Regions from separate parts of the Homo sapiens genome. Here region 1 is linked to region 2. The links are contacts of gene promoters, found by promoter capture Hi-C in blood cells and fetal thymus (Javierre and others, 2016). All regions are on one chromosome and are shown on one strand. The core of a region is centred on a gene start or on the middle of the fragment in contact, and the rest is flanking DNA. Distances in the headings are between cores, read along the strand shown. Region 1 holds the start of ZNF496 (zinc finger protein 496). Region 2 holds the start of PGBD2 (piggyBac transposable element derived 2).

What was found. The method cuts DNA at HindIII sites, captures the fragments that hold promoters and counts their contacts. A CHiCAGO score of 5 or more calls a contact.
Region 1: a contact is called between the fragment with the promoter of ZNF496 here and the fragment with the promoter of PGBD2 in region 2, in 1 of 17 cell types (fetal thymus). The highest score is 7.3, in fetal thymus.

The regions. Positions count from the first base shown.
Region 1 is chr1:247,330,038-247,333,370 of GRCh38, forward strand. It overlaps ZNF496 (zinc finger protein 496), which reads right to left and starts at 1,830. Exons shown (of 10, transcript NM_032752.3): 1 at 1,753-1,830; 2 at 1,395-1,610; 3 at 1-44. ZNF496-DT (ZNF496 divergent transcript) reads left to right here and starts at 2,017. Exons shown (of 3, transcript NR_168399.1): 1 at 2,017-3,209. RefSeq lists silencers at 868-1,107, 1,678-1,787, 1,918-2,397 and an enhancer at 1,710-2,004. The HindIII fragment of the contact is 9,597 bases long and covers 1-3,333 here.
Region 2 is chr1:248,904,949-248,908,521 of GRCh38, forward strand. It overlaps PGBD2 (piggyBac transposable element derived 2), which reads left to right and starts at 1,287. Exons shown (of 3, transcript NM_170725.3): 1 at 1,287-1,394. RefSeq lists enhancers at 917-1,838, 1,363-1,552 and silencers at 1,173-1,232, 1,643-1,732. The HindIII fragment of the contact is 4,441 bases long and covers 1-3,573 here.

The DNA of each region.
Region 1 (3,333 bases), core at 580-3,079, 1.6 Mb before region 2:
AGCCGAAGTCACTGTTCTTGTTATTAAGACCTTTACAAATGGAGCTGGAATGACAAAGACATGCATCGGATGAGCCTTCAAGCACATCCAGGAATGGAAAATCCACCCTTCTGGTGGCAGAGGGCTGATGGTGCTGCGTGCTGGATGGACAACCCAGCCAGAATCAGCTTTGCCCAGCAGAGTCTGCAATGGGAGGCAAGGGAAAACATCACATGAGACAGCTACATGCAGTCTACCAGGGACAAATAACACTGCATCTAGAAGTATCAGTGGTTTCCTATGAGCCTTCTGCCAATTCTGCCCTGACCTTCAACCTCGCCTCCACCCTATTCTCTATCCTTGCCCTCTTCAAACCACATTGAAGGCAACTGCACACTCGCCAAAGCCCTTCCTCGGCCAGGACAGAAAAGTGGGTCCGTCACTGCACAGCTCAGCCCTCAAAGAACCCCTGGACACTGCAGCTGCCACACCCCCAAGGTGGGACTCAGGGGTCCCTACACCTCCCCGCTGGTGTGCAGACAACTAGCCGACACTTTTGCCACAACTAGGGTGGCAAGAGACCAGCAACCAGTATACCTGGTGTTTATGATTCCCACTTTAGAACGCTGGGCCCGTGAAAGGGCACATGGGGACACTCACAGTCCCCTTCTCTGCCATCAGGCCTCTGTGATCCTTAGGACCGGCAGTGCCTGCCACTCCCCCATCTGCACGAGGTTGTCCAGCGTGGCCGCGTCTTAACCTCCAACAGCTCACAAGGTGGGAAGGGGGACTCGGGCCTCACTCCCATTTCACAGAAAGACAAGTGATGCCAGAAAAGCTACGGAACAACTGAGTGGTTCCAGAAACACCCACTGCTCTGAATCTCTTTGCTTTCCAAAGTAACAACATACACAGAAACCCATATGGGGGCCGTGGCGGCGTCGGGCTGGACGCATTACAGCGCTCCCCACCACCGGATCGCTTCCAGGGCGGCTCCGGCATCTGGAGCCCGGGGTGGGCCCCGCCCGCCCTGCTCGGCGGCCCCCTGCGGCGCCCATCACACACCTGCAGCGCCCAGGACTACTCAGGCCCGCCCCCCCGAGCACCGGCGCCCACCCGGGCTGCCACTCGGATCGTCTCCAACCAGACGGCCGCGTCCGTCTTTGTCACGGCGGCACCTGGCGCGTCGGAGGCTCGGAGGAGATGCCTGATGAATGAACTAACGTGAGTGAGGCGGAGGAGGGCCCCGCAGGGGCGGAGCGAGCTCCCAGCCTTTCGCGGAGGAGGGACCGAGCTGGATCGGCAGAAAGGGAAGGAGAAGGTCGCTGTGGGCCAGGGAAGGGGGAGCCCGCCCTCCGCGCCCTCGGTCTCCCTCACACGCGCGTCTCCCGTCTCGCCGGCTCCGGGCTCCTCACCTCACAGCCTGGAGCTCCCTCCCGGCGTCCGGCCGAAAACCCTCCTGTGGCGGCGGAAGTCCAGGGCAGCCGTCCTCATCCTCCCAGCCCGCCCGGCCGGGCGTACTCGCTGAGGCGGGGTCTCCGCAGGCGCCCGGCTCCTTTCCCGGCCCGTCCAGACCGCGTCTCCCGATCATCCGGAAAGCCACGGCTCGGCTCGGGGGCAAATGGAGGCGCCTGAAAAACAATGGTGTTGCTTTCTCCCCCGCCCGCACCTTCCTGAGCGCTGGGCTCTGGGCTGGGAGGCGGCGCCGCGGAGGCCGGGCGCGGGCCGAGGAGGGCGGGGCGGGGCCGGCCGCGGGAGCCGGGGTGCACTCACCGCCGCGGCGCGTCCCTGTTGGCGGGCGGCGCAGGCCTGGCCGCCGCGGGAGCCCGCCGGACGCCGAGGAAAGGAAAGGCCGGAGCCCTCCGGCTCCCTCCCCTGGGACACTTCCTGCTCCGCTCTAGGACTGGGGAGGTCTCCGCATCTCAGTGGTTCGCTCCCCCGCCCCCCGGCCGAGGTGTGCGCTGGGGGTGACATCCGACACCCCCGGCCCGCCCCGCTCCGCGCGCGCCTGGGCCTGGCCGCCGGGCCGGGGGCTTTGTGGGTCAGCCACGTCGCCGCGCCCGGGCTTCCCCGCGGGCCCGCCGGTCCGGAAGGTCGGCCCGGGGCTCTTTTCTCCGCTGTTCTCCTTCTCTGGCGCCCCCAGGACACGCGGCCAGTGGACGCCCGGAACGGCCGACCGGGAGTCGCGGCTGGGGATGGAAGCTGGAATTGGGGGTGCGGGATGGAGCGGAGAGAGGAGGCCCCGCGCGCCGTCGGCCGCCTCATTTCAGACTCCCCTGCGACCCCCCCCCCGCCGCCAGCCGAAGCCCGGGCCGCCCAGCCCCTCCTGCCGCTGCGGGACGCCGAAGGTAGCGCTCACATCCGCGCCTTCCGGGCCTGGCGCCCACGTGCGGAGTCCCCGGGTTAGGAAAGGCCGCGCATCCGGAGGCCACGCAGAGCCTCGGGGCTTGCGCAGAGGGGCTGCGGTGAGTCCTGACCCTGAGTGGGGGTCACGGGGCTCGTTGCTCGCTGAAGTGAACACGGTTGCAGCTGTGCACAGTGGCGGAGGGAGAGGATGAGGGACTCTGACCCAAGGTTATGTGGCAGTGAGGGGCAAGCAGAAATGGGGGCCTCCGGACCCCACCCCGAGACAGGGCTGCTGGCCGCTGCACTATGCTGAATATAGCCCAAATTCTTACATGGGTCGTCCCCGGGGAATGCTCATTTTTCAGGCTCCAGAGCTTGAGAGAAAGTGCGAACCCGGTCCCTGAGCAGGTCTGATTCCCATGGCCCCTTCGCCATCTGCTCTGCACCGAAATTGGATTCTCCTACGCAGAGGAGAAGGTGGAGAAGATTCTCCGTCTTCCGGAGGGTAGCTACTGCCGGTAGCTCCGATTTCCTTCGGATCCCCTTTCAAGGGCAAGCAGAAGGAAATCAGTTTCTCCAAAGAAAGTGGCCCGGCTGAGTAAGTGGGAACAAGGTGGTTGGACTGAGGCACGGGATCCTTTAGCTCCGTTGCTCTTCTAATCCCGTGGCCCTGGGCACCGCCACTTCCTCCTCTGAACTGCTGGAATAATCACTTCTGACTAGCAGAGTTACTGGGAGCCGCTGTTTGTCAGTGTTCACATTCTGACTTTAGCAGGAGATGGAGCGAGCGAAGGAGTGAAGCCCTTGTTTGTGAACAGTGATTGTTTCCCGGATGACAGCCAGATGCCGGGCAGGGCCACGCAGATCTTAGCTGGAGCCTACAGGTACAAGTGAGAGCCACCCCCTTTGACGTAACTGGACTGGCATTTACAGAACTCATGTACAGCCCACTCTCAGGAACACCAGCCAGGAACCGTGACATGGAGGAGAGGAATTGGGAGGAACCGA
Region 2 (3,573 bases), core at 37-2,536:
TAACATCACTGCTCAGAGGAGTGATTGTCACAGAGAAGACACTCATTTAACACTTGAATGAATGAATGAGACACAGGATCTGGGGAACAAAGCAAGTTAGAAACACCACCCTACCTTACCTAGAGTAGCACTCCCATTTTCCCATGGCTTATTGCCTGTTTTCTCAATTTGCTCATATGTGGAATGAATGACAAACTAATACGTGCCCTTCACTTCAGAATCTCACAAATGAGCATGATTTTTTTCTTCTGATCCAGGGGTTTTGGAACACACTTTACAGTGACCAAAAAACCTTTGTGAAGTGTCAGTGTGGAGAAGCAAATACAAACTCTTCACTAAGTGGCCCTCTTTTTGAATGTTAACACGGTTTGGTCCCAGGGATTTCTGTGTTCAAAGCCTTTCAGGGCAAGGCAGTTTTCTGCGGAGTACACTGTCCTATATACCTAATGGGCTACTGGGTTTCAGCTGGACAAAGTCCTTATAGAGCCGTGATTCTCAAGAAGTAGGGGGAGATACTTTTATTTGTCATAACTAGAGTGGAGAGAGTGTGGTGTGCTACTGGCATTTAGTTGCTAGGGATGCTCAATATCCTACAATTAAGGTTCTATTTTTACCAAGTAAAAATATAGGTAGGCAAGGTAGCCAGATGAAATACAGGGACTTCCAGTTAAATGTGAATCTTAGATGAACAACACTGTTACCTGAAACTCAAATTTAACTGTATTTTATCCGTGACCCTGCCTCCTATAATGCACAGGACAGCCTCCTTCCCTCTCAACAAAGAATTATCCAGGCCCAAAATGTCAAGAGTGGAGGTTGAGAAACCCTGCCATACAGCAGTGGTTCTCAAGCCCTAGTTTGTACCACAATTACCTTCAGGGTTGGTAAGGCCGATTATTGGGCACACCCTCAGAGTTTCTTACTCAGAAGGCCTGTAGTGGGGTCCCAAGATTTGCATTTCCATCGATTTCCCAGGTGAAGCTGCTGTTAGATTGGGGGCACATTTGAGAACCACTACCCTAGAAAGTCCCCATGCTCTCCTGATTAGGAAGGAGCGAGGAAGGTTTCCAAAGTAGGACAGGGGTGGGAGGGTAAGGGAGAGTGGCGGGAAGAGCTGGCCCGCTGGGGTGGGTTATTTCGGCCGTTCTGGCCTCGCAGGCGTTTTCGGGATCCCTCTAGGCGCCGCGGAGGTCCTGGAGTCTCGATGGTCGCTCGGGCCGGGGCGTGGCCTGGCCCGGGGGCGTGGCATGGAAGGCCGGCCGAGGTGCAGCGAGCCCTCTGGTGCCGGACGTTGCGCGGCCGCGACGCCCGACGCCAACGCAGGCGCAGCGCTCCGATTCGGCGCGGCTCATGGTCCGGTTCGGGCTCGCGAGTCTCCGTCTGGGGTAGGGCAGGTAGGCCTCAGTGTGCTCGCGCTGCAGGCAGGGCTTCGCTTGAGTACAGGAGTGGTTGGCGTTGATGTTGCGTTTTCTCAACGGCGGCATCCGAGGAGTTCGTCCTCACCACTGCGCGCCGACGGTGGGCTGGCGGGACCAGGACAGGAACAATGGGATTCCGAGGGCCGCAAGGGGGCGCTCCTTCTGCGGGTTGGGGTGCGAGGCCGGAGGCCGGGCCGGCTGAGCGGGAGGCGGAGCGGGGTGGGTGGGGACCAGGGCGGGGTCGGGCTAAAGAGGGATGGATTCAGGGCGGGGTGGGAGGGACCAGGGCAGGCTCGGGCGGGGTGGGCGGGACGAAGGAGGCGGGCGGCCTGAGGCTGGCGGCGGGACTGCGAATGCCACGTCACATCCTGGGGCGGGGTGGCTCTGTGCCGGGGCGCGCTGGGGGCGGGTCGTTTTTAACTGCGTCTGCCTGGGAAGCTGCTGAGGTTTCTGAGGGTCTTTGTTTGCCCTTCTTTCTCTTTTGCTAGTGAGGTGAAGAGAAGGGAGGGTTCTTCCGTATCCCACAAAAGCCATTCTGAGCTGTTGGGTGAAGGGGTGGCCTGCCCTTCCACACCTGTGGGATATCTTGTCAGGTGGGAGGAGAGACTGAGAAAAGAAATAAGACACAGAGACAAAGTATAGAGAAACCACAGTGGGCCCAGGGGACCGGCACTCAGCATACCAAGGACTTGCACCAGCACCGGTCTCTGAGTTCCCTCAGTTTTTATTGATTATTGTTTTCATTATCTCAGCAAGAGGAATGCGGTAGGAGAGCAGGGTGATAAGGAGGTCAGCAAAGAAACATGTGAGCAAAAGAATTTATGTCATAAGTTCAAGTGGAGGTACTATGCCTGGATGTGCACGTAGGCCACATTTATGTTTCTCTCTGCCCAAACATTTCAGTGGAATAAAGAATAACAGGGCAGCATTGCTGCCAACATGTCTTGCCTCCTGCCATAGGGCAGTTTTTCTCCTATCTCAGAATTGAACAAATGTACAATCAGGTTTTGTACGGAGACATTCAGTTCCCAGGGGCAGGCAGGACACAGTGGCCTTCATCTATCTCAACTGCAAGAGGCTTTCCTCTTTTACTAATCCACCTCAGCACAGACGGGTGTCGGGCTGGGGGACGGTAAGGTCTTTCTCTTCCCACGAGGCTGTATTTCAGACTATCACATGGGGAGAAACCTTGGACAATACCCGGCTTTCCAGGGCAGAGGTCCCTGTGGCTTTTCATGGTGCATTGCGCCCCTTGTTTATTGAGACTAGAGAATGGTGATGACTTTTACCAAGCATACTGCTTGTAAACATTTTGTTAACAAGACATGTCCTGCACAGCCCTAGACCCCTTAAACCTTGATTCCATACAACACATGTTTTTGTGAGGTCAAGGTTGGAGCAAAGAGGTTGGGGCAAAGTTACAGATTAAGAGCATCTCAGGGCAAAGCAATTGTTCAAGGTACAGGTCAAAATGGAATTTCTTATGTCTTCCCTTTCTACATAGACACAGTAGCAGTCTGACTTCTCTTTCTTTTCCCTACAGTTAGGCACCTGGCTCAGCTTTGGGGCATTTACATCTATAAAATGTCTTTTGAATAATTTTTATCTTGAATTAATTTCAGAGTTTCAGAGTGTTGTGAAACAAGCAAAAATTCCCATGTACGGTTCGTCTGGATTTCCTAGGGGTTAACATCTTATTTTACAAAACAGTCAACAAAACCAGGATATTAACACCTACAGGCCTTATTCGAATTTCTTTACTCTCACCTATTTCCATTTTGTAATTTAGGTTCCAAGACAGCATTTAGTTGTCCTGTCTTTCCTTGGAGAAATTTACATTTTAAACAGCAGCTCTCCCACCTCCCAATCCCCTAGGACCCTTTAGAGTGGCCTGGGGAGCTCCAGGTCTCACACCAAGTTGCTTTTTCTTTGTTGAGTGCCTGGGCCAGTTCAGTTGAGAATGCCCAGTTGGACCTCTGGGCAGCTCGTGACCACCCTCTGCTCTTCCTCCCAGTGCTGCTAGGCTTAGTGAATGGCACCTCTGTGCACCAGCCATAGGGTGCCTGAAATCTAGGAGGCTTCCCCGATCAGCTTTCTCCCCTGCCCTACCCCCTCAACCAATTATCCAGGCTTGATGGTTTTACATTTTAAGTCC